5 separate regions of the Homo sapiens genome follow, and regions 2, 3, 4 and 5 are each linked to region 1. Evidence: promoter capture Hi-C in 16 types of primary human blood cells and fetal thymus (Javierre and others, 2016). All regions are on one chromosome and are shown on one strand. The core of a region is centred on a gene start or on the middle of the fragment in contact, and the rest is flanking DNA. Distances in the headings are between cores, read along the strand shown.

Evidence for each region. Contacts are between HindIII fragments. The CHiCAGO score rates a contact against its expected background, and 5 or more counts as called.
Region 2: a fragment that was not itself captured here is called in contact with the fragment with the promoter of SLC15A3 in region 1 in 8 of 17 cell types (naive CD4 T cells, activated CD4 T cells, total CD4 T cells and 5 more); the score reaches 11.5 in naive CD4 T cells.
Region 3: a contact is called between a fragment that was not itself captured here and the fragment with the promoter of SLC15A3 in region 1, in 8 of 17 cell types (total CD8 T cells, naive CD8 T cells, M0 macrophages and 5 more). The highest score is 10.3, in total CD8 T cells.
Region 4: a fragment that was not itself captured here is called in contact with the fragment with the promoter of SLC15A3 in region 1 in 1 of 17 cell types (non-activated CD4 T cells); the score reaches 5.7 in non-activated CD4 T cells.
Region 5: a fragment that was not itself captured here is called in contact with the fragment with the promoter of SLC15A3 in region 1 in 9 of 17 cell types (activated CD4 T cells, naive CD4 T cells, total CD4 T cells and 6 more); the score reaches 14.6 in activated CD4 T cells.

What each region holds. Positions count from the first base shown.
Region 1 is chr11:60,950,784-60,953,483 of GRCh38, forward strand. SLC15A3 (solute carrier family 15 member 3) reads right to left here and starts at 1,393. Exons shown (of 8, transcript NM_016582.3): 1 at 211-1,393. The coding sequence starts at 768. RefSeq lists silencers at 676-835, 1,156-1,385 and an enhancer at 1,566-1,705. The HindIII fragment of the contact is 22,604 bases long and covers 1-2,700 here.
Region 2 is chr11:61,154,075-61,156,774 of GRCh38, forward strand. The region is part of intron 1 of VPS37C (VPS37C subunit of ESCRT-I); the gene reads right to left. Among named protein-coding and RNA genes, the nearest start is that of VPS37C, 6.0 kb to the right of the region's middle. The HindIII fragment of the contact is 5,088 bases long and covers 1-2,700 here.
Region 3 is chr11:61,116,973-61,119,672 of GRCh38, forward strand. CD5 (CD5 molecule) reads left to right here. Exons shown (of 11, transcript NM_014207.4): 3 at 1,203-1,508; 4 at 1,943-2,005; 5 at 2,262-2,603. Among named protein-coding and RNA genes, the nearest start is that of CD5, 16 kb to the left of the region's middle. The HindIII fragment of the contact is 5,023 bases long and covers 1-2,700 here.
Region 4 is chr11:61,198,213-61,200,912 of GRCh38, forward strand. It overlaps LOC124902678 (a long non-coding RNA gene), which reads left to right. Exons shown (of 4, transcript XR_007062691.1): 4 at 910-2,658. Among named protein-coding and RNA genes, the nearest start is that of PGA3, 4.0 kb to the right of the region's middle. The HindIII fragment of the contact is 4,291 bases long and covers 1-2,700 here.
Region 5 is chr11:61,134,882-61,137,581 of GRCh38, forward strand. All of the region lies in intron 2 of VPS37C (VPS37C subunit of ESCRT-I), which reads right to left. Among named protein-coding and RNA genes, the nearest start is that of VPS37C, 25 kb to the right of the region's middle. RefSeq lists enhancers at 1-391, 392-907, 2,229-2,700. The HindIII fragment of the contact is 3,077 bases long and covers 1-2,700 here.

The DNA of each region.
Region 1 (2,700 bases), core at 143-2,642:
CCGTCTCAAAAAATAAAACAAACAAAAAAACAACCATGGTTATTCCCACTGCGGTTGCCATCGGTTTTGCAAGGGCTAGCCCCCCTCTTCTTTCAAATCAGGAAACTAGTGCAGGCAGGGGACCTGGTTTGTCCCAGGTCACGCTGGGGGCCAGCCCTCCTTCCCTCCACACCCGCCGGAGTATGCCGGGGCAGGCCTCCTGCCACTCACCTGGTCGGCACCGAAGGAGGTGAGGTTGCTCCGGACGGAGCTGGCGGCCAGGCCGAGTAGCAGCAGGCCCGCGTAGAGGACGGGCGCGCAGTAGGGGCTGGGCGAGGAGCGCGGGCAGCCGGCCGAGGGGCAGGCAGGTCCCAGCGGCGACGCGGGCATCTCTCCGCAGAAGGAGCTGCGGCCGTCGGGGAAGGCGGTGGCGGGCAGCAGGCCCGAGGCGGCCAGGTAGAGCAGCAGGCTGAGCGCGACCGCGCGGTAGCGGCCCAGGTACACGTCGGCCAGCCAGCCGCCCACGGGCGCCAGCAGGTAGGAGGCGCCCAGGAATACCAGCGCGGCGCGCGTCGCCTGCTCGCCGGTCCAGTTGAAGTTGGTGCTGTTGAGGTACAGCACGAGGTTGGCGGTGACGCCGAAGAAGGCGGCGCGCTCCAGCATCTCCACCAGCAGCACGGCCGCGCCCGCCGCCCGCCGCCACCGTCGAGGGCCCCGCGCACCGCGAGGCAGCAGCGGCTGGCGCTCCCCGGGCACGCGGGGCTGCTCCCGGGCGCGCGGCGCGGGCATCCTGGCTCCGGGCTGGGCCCCCCGCGGCTCTTCTCTCCTCTCCTCTCCCCGCCTCAGAGCCCTGCACTCCTGCCCCCGGGCCTCGGCCCTCTCCCCCACCCAACTGGCTGGCCCTCCTTTCTCACCGCTTTGGCCCACCCTTCCCTCCTGTCCCCTCTCCCTTTCTTGCCCTACCCTTCCTGTCCCTCCGCTCACTACCCGGACTCTACCACCTCCTCCCTAATTCTCAACTCCCCTCTCCCTTCCCCCACCCCTAAGGCTTCCTCCCCGCGCCTCTCCTGCAGCTGTTTCTCCCTAACTCTCCCCTCTCCTCCCTCCACCTTGACCCTTCCTCGCACTCTTGTTCACACTGCGACCCTCCCTGCTTCACTTCGCTGCCCCTCCGCCTCCCTTTCCCCTCCCCGTTTGTCGCCCCTTCCTGTTGTCCCCTCTCCTTATGACTCCTGGCCTGCCCTGGGCGTGGGGTGGGGGCTCCCTCTGCCCCAGTCACCCTGCTGCCCCTTGCCGTCTTCTCCACCTCCTCCCTGTCCCCCTCACCCCCACTGCCTACACTCCCCTCTCAGTCCCCTGCAGCCCTCCCCCCAGGCTCAGCCTCTGTCCCTCTCTCGGCTTCTTGAGAAACTCTGGGCTCCCCTCGCTTCCCCTTTCACAGGCCCTATCCGCAGTCCCCTGCCTGCATCACATGGCGCTACTGGGTGTTTAGGAGAAGTGAAAGCCTGGGTCACAGGGCTCCTGCCCGGTCAGCTTTCTAAAAACCTCCCTCCTTCTCTACCTCTGCCTCCTACCCCAAACCCCCGCTGCTGGCCTCCTTAGAGCCAAAAAATTCCAGGAGGAATTTTTTCTTTCAGTTTCATTTCTCGCCAGGATTCCACTTTTGCTTTACCCTCTTCCAATCAAACTCCACGCCTCCACCCGAGGCGCCACGGGTAGAAAGAAGTGGAAAGGCTACCTGCATCATTTGGTCACACTCAGCCATTTCACAGATGCAGAGACAGACCCAGTGGGGCTAGGGCAGGAAGGTGGAGAAAGATTGGTTCCTGGTAACTGAACTAGGGGTGAAGCCCTGCCCCGGGCTCCTGAGTGGCAGGGAAATTCACAGCGCAATTCGGATTGCACAGAGGCTGCTGTGAGGAAGGAAGTGGGGCACTTTCAACAAGCCTGCGGGCCATAGAGGACCACAAGTGAGTCGGGATTGAGAGGGACACCGACCTCAGACTAAATCAGAGTCAGCCTCAGAACTCCTAAGCACCAGCCCCACCCTGACCTAGGAGCCCGGGGGATCTGGCCTCTGCTCTCCTCTGATCTCATCTCAGCCCCATGTTCACTCAAGTCCAGCCAGCCGGCCTCCCAGGTTCCCCTTCCATGCTAAGCTCCTCCCTGCCTCAGGGCCTTTGTCTTTGCTGACCCCTCTGCCATAACTGCTCTCCCTCCATATCCTTGCATGGCTGGCTGCTTCTCTTTATTGAGGTTTCAGCATATATGTCTCCTTTGTAGGGACCTTCCCTGATTTTCCCATCTAAGTAGTTTCCTACTGGATTCTCAGCATCCCCCATCACATTGTCTTGTTTTAATGTCTTCAGAGCACATATTACTTGTTCAGTTAGCACCAGTAGAATAGGCCCTCCATCAGATCAGAGACCTTTTCTAACTCTTCACTGTTTTATTCTCAATGGCTTCCCAGTGCTTGGCAAATAGTAGGTGCTCAATAAGTATTGCCTGAATCAATGAATGGAAAGAGTGTCCCAAGGCAAAATTTGTAAGAATAATAATATCAGGAAAGCTAAAGCTAAATAAACTGAGTCTCACAAAAGCTATAGATACCAGCAAAAAAAGCACTATAGATACCAGCAAAAAAGCGAGGGATTTTTTGTTGTTGTTGTTTGTTTGTATGTTTGTTTTGAGACGAAGTCTCACTCTGTCGCCCAGGCTGCC
Region 2 (2,700 bases), core at 131-2,630, 200 kb after region 1:
TCAAACTGTTCCCAAGTAACTTAACAGTGTCCTAAAACAATGCCAGGAACATTTCTAGAAATACAAAAATATCCAGCACCCCACAAGGTAAAATTCACAACATCTGATATACAATAAAAATTACCAGACATACAAAGAATCAAGAAAATAAGACTCATAATGAGGGAAGCAATAGAAACAGACCCAAAAAATACACAGATAATGGAATTAGTAGGCAAGGACATTAAAACAGTTCCTAAAACTATATTCCATATGTTCAAGAAGCTAAAAGAAAGATTAAGCATGTTAGAGACAGGGAAGATATTTAAAAGACCCAAATCAAACTTCTAGAGATGAAAACTACAATGTCTGTGATAAAAAGTATACTGAAAGGTAATATCAGCAGATTAGACAATGCAGAAGAGACCAGTGAATTTGAAGAAAGAGCAATAGAAACTAACCAGAACAAACCACAGAGAGAAAAGAAAAAGGGACTACTGGGAAAAATGAATGATCAGAGAGCTATGGAGCAACCTCTAGCACCCTTACATACATGTAACTGGAGTCCCCGAAAGAGAGGAAAGAGAAAAGGGAATAAAAAAAATATTTGCAGAGTTACTGACTGAAAAATTTCCAAATCTGATGAAAGCTATAAACCCACAAATCCAAAAAACTCAATGAACCCAAGCACAAAACACACAAAGAAAATTACACTACACAAAAGCACATCATCATTACATTGTTTAAACTCAGTTAGAAAAGCAGTTAGGGCCAGGCACAGTGGCTCACACCTGCAATCTCAGCACTTTGGAAGGCCGAGGTGGGAGGATCGCTTGAGCCCAGGAGTTTTCGACCACCCTGGGCAACATAGTGAGACCCTGTCTCTACAAAAAATAAAAAATTTGCCTGGCATGGTGGCACACACCTGTGGTCCCAACTACTTGGGAGGCTGAAGTGGGAGGATCCCTCGAGCCCAGAAGTTTGAAGCTGCAGTGAGCTATGATCACGCCACTGCACTCTGGCCTGGATGACAGAGTGAGACTCTGTCTCCAAAAAAAAAAAAAAGGCGGGGGGACAGGGAGAAAGAAAAGCAGTTATAAGGAGAAAAGATACATTACAAACAGAAGAGCAAAAAATAAAAATAAACAGACCAGGTGTGGTGGCTCATGCTTGTAATCTCATCACTTTGGGAAGCTGATGCCGTAGGATCACTTGAGGCCAGGAAGTCAAGACCAGCCTGAGCAACATAGCAAGACCCTATCTCTACAAAAATAAAGAATAATCATTAAAAAACAACTACCCAGGCATGGTGATACACACCTGTAGTCTTAGCTACTAGGGACCCTGAGGTGGGAGGATCACTTGAGCCCAGAAGTTTGAGGCCACAGTGAGCTATGATCACGCCACTGCACTCTGGCCTGGATGACAGAGTGAGATTCTGCCTCTTAAAAAGCAAGAAGAAAAAAGGAAAGAAAAATAGCAGACTACTGATATGAAACAATGCAAGCAAAAGACACTGGAACATCTTTAAAGCACTGAAAAAAAAAATAGTTAATCCAGAATTCTATACAGGGAAAATGCCTTCCAAAAACAAAGCCAAAATAAAGACTTCTCTAGACACCCAAAAGCTGAAAGAATCCATCACTAACAGACCAGCACCACAAGAAATGTTAAAAGGATGTCCTCAAGTCAGAAGGAACATGAAACAAGATAGAAATGTGGATCTACATGAAGGAATAAAGAGCACCAAAAATGTTAAACGAACAAGTAAATATAAAAGAACTTTACATTTTCATCTCCTTAAAAAATAATTGACTATTTAAAGCAAAAATAACAATGTGTTGTGGGATTTATGGCACGTGTAGAAGTAAAACAGGTGACAACAATACAAAGTCCAGGAGGAAGGAAATGAAAGTAAACTATTGCAAGATTCTTACACTAAAGTGGTATAATATCGCTTGAAGATAGGCTGTAGCAAATTAAAGATGCATACTATATACCTTAAAGCAACCACTAAAAAGTGTTCGAATTAATGAACCAACAAAGGAAACAAAGTGGAATCATAAAAATTATTCGATCCCAAAGAAGTCATAAAAAAGGAAAAAGGGAACAAAGCACATGGGACAAATTGAAAACAAATAGCAAGAAGGTAGATTTAAACTCAACCATATCAATAACCACATTAAATCTAAATAGTCTTAACACCCCAATTAAAATGCAGCTTGTGAGATTGGATTAAAAAGCAACCCCCGGCCAGGTGCAGTTGTTCACGCCTGTAAACCCAGCACTTTGGGAGGGGTGGGTAGATAACTTAAGGTCAGGAGTTCAAGACCAGCCTAGCCAACATGGTGAAATCCCGTCTCTACTAAAAATACCAAAAAATTAGCTGGGCATGGTAGGCACACGCCTGTAATCCCAGCTCTCAGGAAGCTGAGGCATGAGAATCATTTGAACCCAGGAGGAGGCAGTTGCAGTGAGTCAAGATCACACCACTGTACTCCAGCCTGGGCAACAGAAGGAGACTCTGTCTCAAAAAAAAACAAAAACAAAAACACCACCCATCTATATGCTGCCTACAAGAAGCCCACTTTCAATATAAAGACACAAATTGTTTAGAAGTAAAAAACTTTTTAAGAGATATACCGTAATTTTTAAATCCTCTATTTTTAAAAACTGTTTTATACGTAACAAAATTTACCATTTTAATCATTTTTAAGTATA
Region 3 (2,700 bases), core at 160-2,659, 170 kb after region 1:
GCAATTCCATTCCTAGGTATTTACCCAAGAGAAATGGAAACGCCCACACAAAGACCTGTATGTGAATGTTCACAGCAGCCTTATTCATAGTAGGCAAAACCCGGAAACAAATCAAATGGTGAATGGAAAACAAATTGGCATGTCCGTGTAGTGAACTATCATTCGGCAATAAAAAGGAATGAACTACTTATGCGTCCAGTGACATAGCTAAATCTCAAATACATGCTAAGCGAAAAAAGCCAAATCAAACAAAATAAAATCCATGCTGTATGAGTCCATGTCTATGACATTGTAGCACAGGCAAAACTCATCTTTTGTGACAAAAAGCAGATCAGTGTTTGCCTGAGGCTAGATTCAGGGAAATTAACTATAAAGGGGCCTTAGGGAACTTTCTAGATGATGGAAATGTTCCATATCTAGATTATGGTGGTGGTTACATGCATGTATACATTTGTCAAATTCCATCGAACAGTATCCTTAAAATGAGTGCATTTCACTGTATGTAAAATTACCTCAATAAAATTTTTTTTTTTTGAGATGGAATCTTGATCTGTTACCCAGGCTGGAGTGCAGTGGCGCGATCTTGGCTCACTGCAACCTCTGCCTCCCGGGTTCAAGCAATTCTCCTGCCTCAGCCTCCCGAGTAGCTAGGATTACAGGCGCCTGCCACCACACCCAGCTAATTTTTGGTATTTTTTCTTTTTTTAGTAGAGATGGGGTTTCACCATGTTGGCCAGGCTGGTCTCAAACTCCTGACCTCAGGTGATCTGCCCGCCTCAGCTTCCCAAAGTGCTGGGATTACAGGCATGAGCCACCACACCTGGCCTAAAATTAATTTTTAAAGATCTCTTAAAAAGCAGACACCAGCCCCAATCTCAGACCCCTTGAGACAGAATTTCCAGGACAGGGGCCATCCTGCTGGACAGTGGGTGCCGAGAACACCTTGCCCATTTATCTGAGCTCCCTTCTGACTCTGAAATCTGGAGCCCCACCCTCCTGGGTCTAGCTTCGGGGCTGCCTGGGTCAGGGTCCTCTGGGAAGCCCCTGCAGTGCCCCAGAAGGGACGAAGCTCACAAGGGGCAAGGCAGGCAGCCCACGGGGCAGGAGGGAGCTCAACTGGGCGTCCTAGGGAGAGGGCAGTGAGGGGTGCCAGTGGGGAACCCCTCCCAGCCTGACCCCCACCACACCTTTCTGACCCCCAGATTTCCAGGCAAGGCTCACCCGTTCCAACTCGAAGTGCCAGGGCCAGCTGGAGGTCTACCTCAAGGACGGATGGCACATGGTTTGCAGCCAGAGCTGGGGCCGGAGCTCCAAGCAGTGGGAGGACCCCAGTCAAGCGTCAAAAGTCTGCCAGCGGCTGAACTGTGGGGTGCCCTTAAGCCTTGGCCCCTTCCTTGTCACCTACACACCTCAGAGCTCAATCATCTGCTACGGACAACTGGGCTCCTTCTCCAACTGCAGCCACAGCAGAAATGACATGTGTCACTCTCTGGGCCTGACCTGCTTAGGTGGGTAACTAGCCAGCCACACGGGCACCCTGGGCCTGGGCGCCAGCCCCGAGGAGACTGCCCGAGGCCTGTGATCTAGGGTCTGAGCAGGCTGGTGGAAGGGGTGGGGGGACCCCAGTTTATAACCACTCCCCAAGACACATACCCAGGAGGGGGACTGGAAGGGGCCAGCACCCATCTGTAGGATGGCAATGGAGGACCTAGTTCTGCCAATCACTGACTTCATCGTCGCCTCTGAACCTCCATTCTCCCATCTGTGAAGTGGGGTGGTACTTCCCGCCTCGCAGGAGGCTTAGAGACAACGTGTGGGTCAAGTGGACCTGGTGTGCCAAGCGGCACTCATGCCAGGAGCTCCTGGTCCTCTCAAGGCTGCTGGCTGCCCCCGGCCCTCCCCACACCACCCATTCCTCCCTCACCAGAGTGTCTCATTGCAGAACCCCAGAAGACAACACCTCCAACGACAAGGCCCCCGCCCACCACAACTCCAGAGCCCACAGGTAAGAGGATTCTGAACCCCCCACAGGGAGTCAGAGCTAGCAAATAAAAACCCAGGATGCCCAGTTACATTGGAATTTCTGACAAAGGTGGAAATGTTTAGTATTGGTGTGTTCTACGCAATATTTGGGACCCCATCACCTCCCAAGGCTAAGCGTTAGTCAGTAGTTGTCCACAAGTTGGGGCCAAACAGCAAGGAGTGCCCAGGAAGCCCTCGGCGCTCAGGGTGGCTCCCCCTCCTGCTCTCTCCTCTCCTAGCTCCTCCCAGGCTGCAGCTGGTGGCACAGTCTGGCGGCCAGCACTGTGCCGGCGTGGTGGAGTTCTACAGCGGCAGCCTGGGGGGTACCATCAGCTATGAGGCCCAGGACAAGACCCAGGACCTGGAGAACTTCCTCTGCAACAACCTCCAGTGTGGCTCCTTCTTGAAGCATCTGCCAGAGACTGAGGCAGGCAGAGCCCAAGACCCAGGGGAGCCACGGGAACACCAGCCCTTGCCAATCCAATGGAAGATCCAGAACTCAAGCTGTACCTCCCTGGAGCATTGCTTCAGGAAAATCAAGCCCCAGAAAAGTGGCCGAGTTCTTGCCCTCCTTTGCTCAGGTAAGTGAGACCTGGCCAAGCCCCATGACACCTTCTGCTGCCCTAGGTGGGGTCACAGAGCATCCCAGAAGGTCAGGGAACATGTGTGCAGCACAGG
Region 4 (2,700 bases), core at 126-2,625, 250 kb after region 1:
GGCATCTCTGGAGAAGCAGCCCAGGTCTGGGACTGGGGAGTGGAAAACACAATGTTCTCTTTGGTGTTGGAAGATCCTGTCCCTGGGGTGAGACCTTGATTGAAAACTGCGAGGGGACCAGCTGCCCCAATGCCTATCAGACCAGCTCGATAACATTTATCATGCTTAAGTGCTCTGTCTCAGGCTTGCCGTGACTAGGTTCCTTAGATCTCATTCCATTGCTTGATTTGATTGGTTCATGGAATATTTATGAACACCTGTGCCCTTGGCAGGGGCTGCCCTGCATCGGAGACACTGCTACCAGTGCCCCTGAAAGCCAGGCAATACCATACTGAGTGCCAGGCAGGGCTAATGGCAAAGTAAACGTTGTTGTCTAATCTTTCAGCCGGGCCAGTCTAGTACAATGAGATGATGTGGCTTCCTTGCTGGCAGCCACGGATCAGCCCTGGCTGAAAATCAGATCTCATGGGAGCACGTAGTTGCAGAATCAGGATTCCCTTTTCCATCCCAAGGGTTCTTCTGGTCAAGGGGGCTGAGTGGAATGGCTTCTCCAAGTGCCCCTGGGATGGAGGCTGCAGCCATCATGGAATGTTCCTGTCACACACTAACCCATGAGCAGAAACCAGGTGGATGTACATAGTCACATAGTCTGGCCAGGGACCAGAGCCTCCTGAGACCCAGGTTCAGGTCCCATCTGTGTCATTACTTAGTTATGTGAACCTGCACTGATCACTTAACCCCTCTGAGCTATGTCCGTTGGGAAAAAGTGGGAGTAATAGTTTAATAATTCTTTTTAAAATAATTCAAAGCATTCAGAAAAGCACAAATAGGCACACAAATGTAAGCACTACTATGTTGAGGGAGGTTTGCAGATGACCTGACCAACAACGTCACCTTCTCCCTTTTCAGATCACTCATATTGCCTGAGCAGAAAACCACCTAGCAGAGCACTGAAATGGTCCCAAAAGAGGGAAGAGCAAGAGGCAACCAGGTGGATCTTTTTGGAGTTTTCAAGAGGTTTCCAGTCCTGCTTTCTATTGCTGATGACAAGTTAACACACACTGAATGACTTACAACAACTCACACTGACTCACTATCTCACTGTTTCTGTGGGTCAGGAATCCAGGCTCGGTACAGCTGAGGCCTCTGTCAGTCAGGGATGTCAGCCTGGTCTGTGGTCTCATCTGAGGCTTGACTAGAGAAGGATCTGCTTCCATGCTCACACGCTTGCTGGCAGGATTCAGTTACTTGTAGATTGTCACACTGAAGGCCTGAGTTCCTTGCTGGCTGTCAGCTGGAGGCCACCCTTGGGTCCTTCCCCTTGGGCCTCTTTATAGGGCAGCTTTCTTTATCAGAGCCAGCAAGAGGAAGAGTCTATACAGACAGTGTGCTAGCAAGACACAAGCTACAAGCCTGTATAATGTCATCGCAAAAGCAACATCCCATCTACTTTGCTGTATCCTGTTGGCTAGAAGCAAGTCCTGCCTACACAAAAGGGGAGGGGATTACGCAGGGATGTGAACACCAGCAGCATGAATAATTGGGGGCCATCCTACAGTCTCTCTGCCATACCCCTGAATTGGTGTCAGCAAGCATGCCAGCGTCCCTCAGGGTGCTAAAATCTCTAATGTGGAGAAACATTATCATCTTCACCAATCTGAGAGCTTCCCCTCAATGTGATCCAAATATCCATCCAGGTGGAAAGGAAGAGCCCCTTCCACACCAGCTTTCCCTTCAACTGACCACAAATGCGCCAAAGGCACGGCCTAGTCCTACCATGCTCAGGGATGTACCCTCTGCAGCTAGAGCATCCCTGCACGGTACACAGCAAGTGCACAATAAGGCATTTGAATGAATGTGTAAAGGGGCTTGCAGGTTTCTGCCTGGGGAATCTTCCTTCTGCTTCCCAAATATACTTCTCTGCTCAAAATTCCCATGTGGGCCCCAGACAAACTGTGCCCCCAAAATCAGTGCCCATCCTTGGGCTCCAAGCTCCCTCCCTTCCATCTGGTGGCAGCCTTGAGTGAGGGGATTCCATCTGGTGCCCCCAGAACTTAGGCAGCATCTTCAGGACCATCAGGTTCTTCACATGAGTGCTAGGATCAACCCATACTTAGGTGATGGATACTCCAAATACCCTGACTTCATCATTACTCTTTCTATGCCTGTAACAGAATATCACATGTACCCAAAAAAAATATGTAAAATATTATGTATCCATAAAGAGAGAGAGGGCCAGGTGCAGTGTGGTTCACTGTAATCCCAGCACTTTGAGAAGCTGAGGCAGGAAGATCGCTTGAGCCCAGGAGTTCGAAACCAGCCTGGGCCACATAGTGAAGCCCTGTCTCTACAGAAAATACAAAAGTTAGCTCGGTGTAGTGGCTCATGCCTTTCATCCCAGCTACTCAGAGCCTGAGGCCAGAGGACTAATTGAGCGTGGGAGGCTGAGGCTGCAGTAAGCCATGATCACCCCACTACGCTCTACCCTGAGTGACAGAATAAGACCCTGTCTCATAAAACAGAGAGAGAGGCTTGAGAGGGAGGAAAGAAAGAGGAAGAGAAGGAGGCACCAGAAGACATGAACGTGGAAAATACAAGGGCTAGTCATACTGGAGTGAGATTCACAGTTAAAAAAAAAGAAAAGAAAACAAAAGAAAATGGGCCCAGGATTCACATTTGGGGCACAAAGATGTCAACTAA
Region 5 (2,700 bases), core at 5-2,504, 180 kb after region 1:
CTTCGTCGCTGCCAGCCAGTGAGACAGAAGCCAAGGCACCCTTGCCAGCTGTTGTGATGTGACGCCCCATGCATCCGCCAAGGAGTCCTCTTCCTAAGAGGAGGGCTGAGGAGTCAGACCTGCATGCTGAGCCAGCAGTGACAGTACACTGTCAGCAGCATGGGGCACCAGAAGAGAGGCCTCGGCACCCGCCACAGGGCGCAGGGAACAGCTCAGCAAGACTGACTCTAAGTCAGGCCCTCACTGTGCAGCTTCTCTGTGCAGCTTCTCCACCATGGTCAGCATGTGACAGACCAAGCCAGACTGGCTCATGCCCCACGAGACATAGGAAGCCCGTGGGCATTCTGGAAGAGGCGGCCTCGGGGAAAGGCTACCCCTTCTGCTGTCCCAGCTACAGGGGCCGAGGTCCTGCACTCTGGGGCAGGCCCATTGCCTCTTCTTTGTGCTCCAGATTGGAAAGAGGGATACCACAGCTTCCTGCCCTCCCTGAGCCCTCCAGACAAGGCTGCCAGGGTTCAGGGATGTAGGGCCCAGGGTCTGTCCAGCCTAGAGCCCACGCTGCTGCCTTCTACAGACATGGTCTCATTCTGTCGTCCAGAATGAGTGCAATAGCATGACCATAGGTCACTGCAGCCTCAAACTCCTGAGCTCGAGCAATATTCCCTTCTCAGCCTTTCCAGCAGCTGGGACTACAGGCATGCACCACCACGCCTGGCTAAGTTCTTTTATTTTCTGTAGAGATGGGGTTTCCCTACGTTGCCCAGGCTGGCCTCAAACAATCCTCCCATCCCATCCTTCCAATAGCTGGGACTACAGGCACAAACCACCATACGTGACTCTCAATCTAATTTTTATTAGCCATGGAAACTTTACTTACATGGCTGACCCAGAGTGAAAGGCCTAAAGCCCTCCTGCTCACCCATCCCTTGCAGGGCCCCATGGATCCTCTGGCCTCCCTATAGGTCCACTGCCTTTTCCCTGCGTCTAAACCAACAAATCGACGCTGTATCATTTTCCCCTAAATCTTGCCCTACTTATTTCTGCTCCCTGTCTCCACAGCCTTCTTACATCTTTCTCCACGAAGTGGGTCAATGGGTAGAAACATATAGGTAGATAGAAGAAGTAAGTTCTAATGTTCAACAGCTGAGTAGGGTGACTATGGTCAGCAACAATGTATTGTATATTTCAAAGTAGCAAGAAGCGTAAAATGTTCCCAACACACAGAAACAACAAATACTCAAGGTGATGGAGACCCTAAATGCCCTGACCTTAATTACACATTTTTTTTTTTTTTTTTTTTTTGAGACAGAGTTTCGCTCTGTTGCCCAGGCTGGAGTGCAATGGCGCAATCTCGGCTCACTTCAACCTCTGCCTCCTGGGTTCAAGCGATTCTCCTGCCTCAGCCTCCCTTGCTCCCTTGTAGCTGGGACTACAGGCACGTGCCACCACGCCTGGCTAATTTTTGTATTTTTAGTAGAGATGGGGTTTCACCATGTTGGCTAGGCTGCTCTCGAACTCCTGACCTCAGGTCTTCCACCCACCTCGGCCTCCCAAAGTGCTGGGATTACAGGCATGAGCTACCGCGCCCAGCCTGATCATCACACATTCTATGCATGCAACAAAGATTCTCATCTTCCCCATAAATATGCAAAATATGCATCAATTTAGAAAATTGCATATCGATGCATATTAGGGGTTCAGTGTGAAGTCCTCCCAGTCACTGAAAAGAGGTAAGACTAAAAATAGGTAAATAAAAGATGTTTTCACATGTTTTGCTGCTTCTGAATTCAATCTGCCCTAGTATATTACTTTGGTGGAAATAAGGAGGAAGAATCTATACTCATACAGATATATAGCTAGAAAAGGAAGGAGTCGCTACTAACCTTTATAGATAATTATCAATTTTCTTTGAATCTACAGCAAAACTCAACAAGAAGTATCTAATAGTTCTTAAAAGTTGCTATGTAAAATTTAGAAATTAGCCAGGTGTGGTGGTGTGCACCTGTAGTCCCAGCTACTTGGGAGGCTGAGGTGGGAGGATTGTTTGAGTTCAGGAGGTGGAGGCTGCAGTGAGCCATGATGGCGCCATTGCACTCCAGCCTGGGTGACAAAGTAAGACCCTGCCTAAAAAAACAAAAATTAAAAAAAGTTGCAAAGTGGGAGATAAAACCATTTTGACTAACTTTCCTTAATAAGTTACGGTGTTTCCCTTCTATATCTGGCCCCCAACCCAAAGCAGCTCCCCTCCACACACCCCTCTATGCACACTCTTCTACACGGAGAGAGCCCCTGCCAACTCCCTTCTCTCCTAGCCGTGTCCATGTCCCGAACTAATAGAGAGCTCCTGTCTCTTCTCACAATCCCACTGTGACTCAATGACTGTCTTATAGCCCACGATAAAAAAGTTTGCCAATGGTCTGAAGTCTAAGTGGCTTGTCCTGCTTCATTTCTACCTGATCCACGAGTGTTTTTTCCCCTCAGAGAGTTCAGATCGATGGGACAGGTGTGGCTGCACACCACAAAATTCAAGTGCCTTCTGCCCAAGAGGTCGCTTCTGCTCACATTTTCCATGATTCTCTGCTTTGTCACGATTCTGTCAGCCTGCTCAGCTCTGCACACTCTAGAAGCAGGCCTTGGGCTTCCCATGGCACCATGCTCACAGTGCTTAATATGTGACAAAGGAACGCAGGCAGAGCTGCA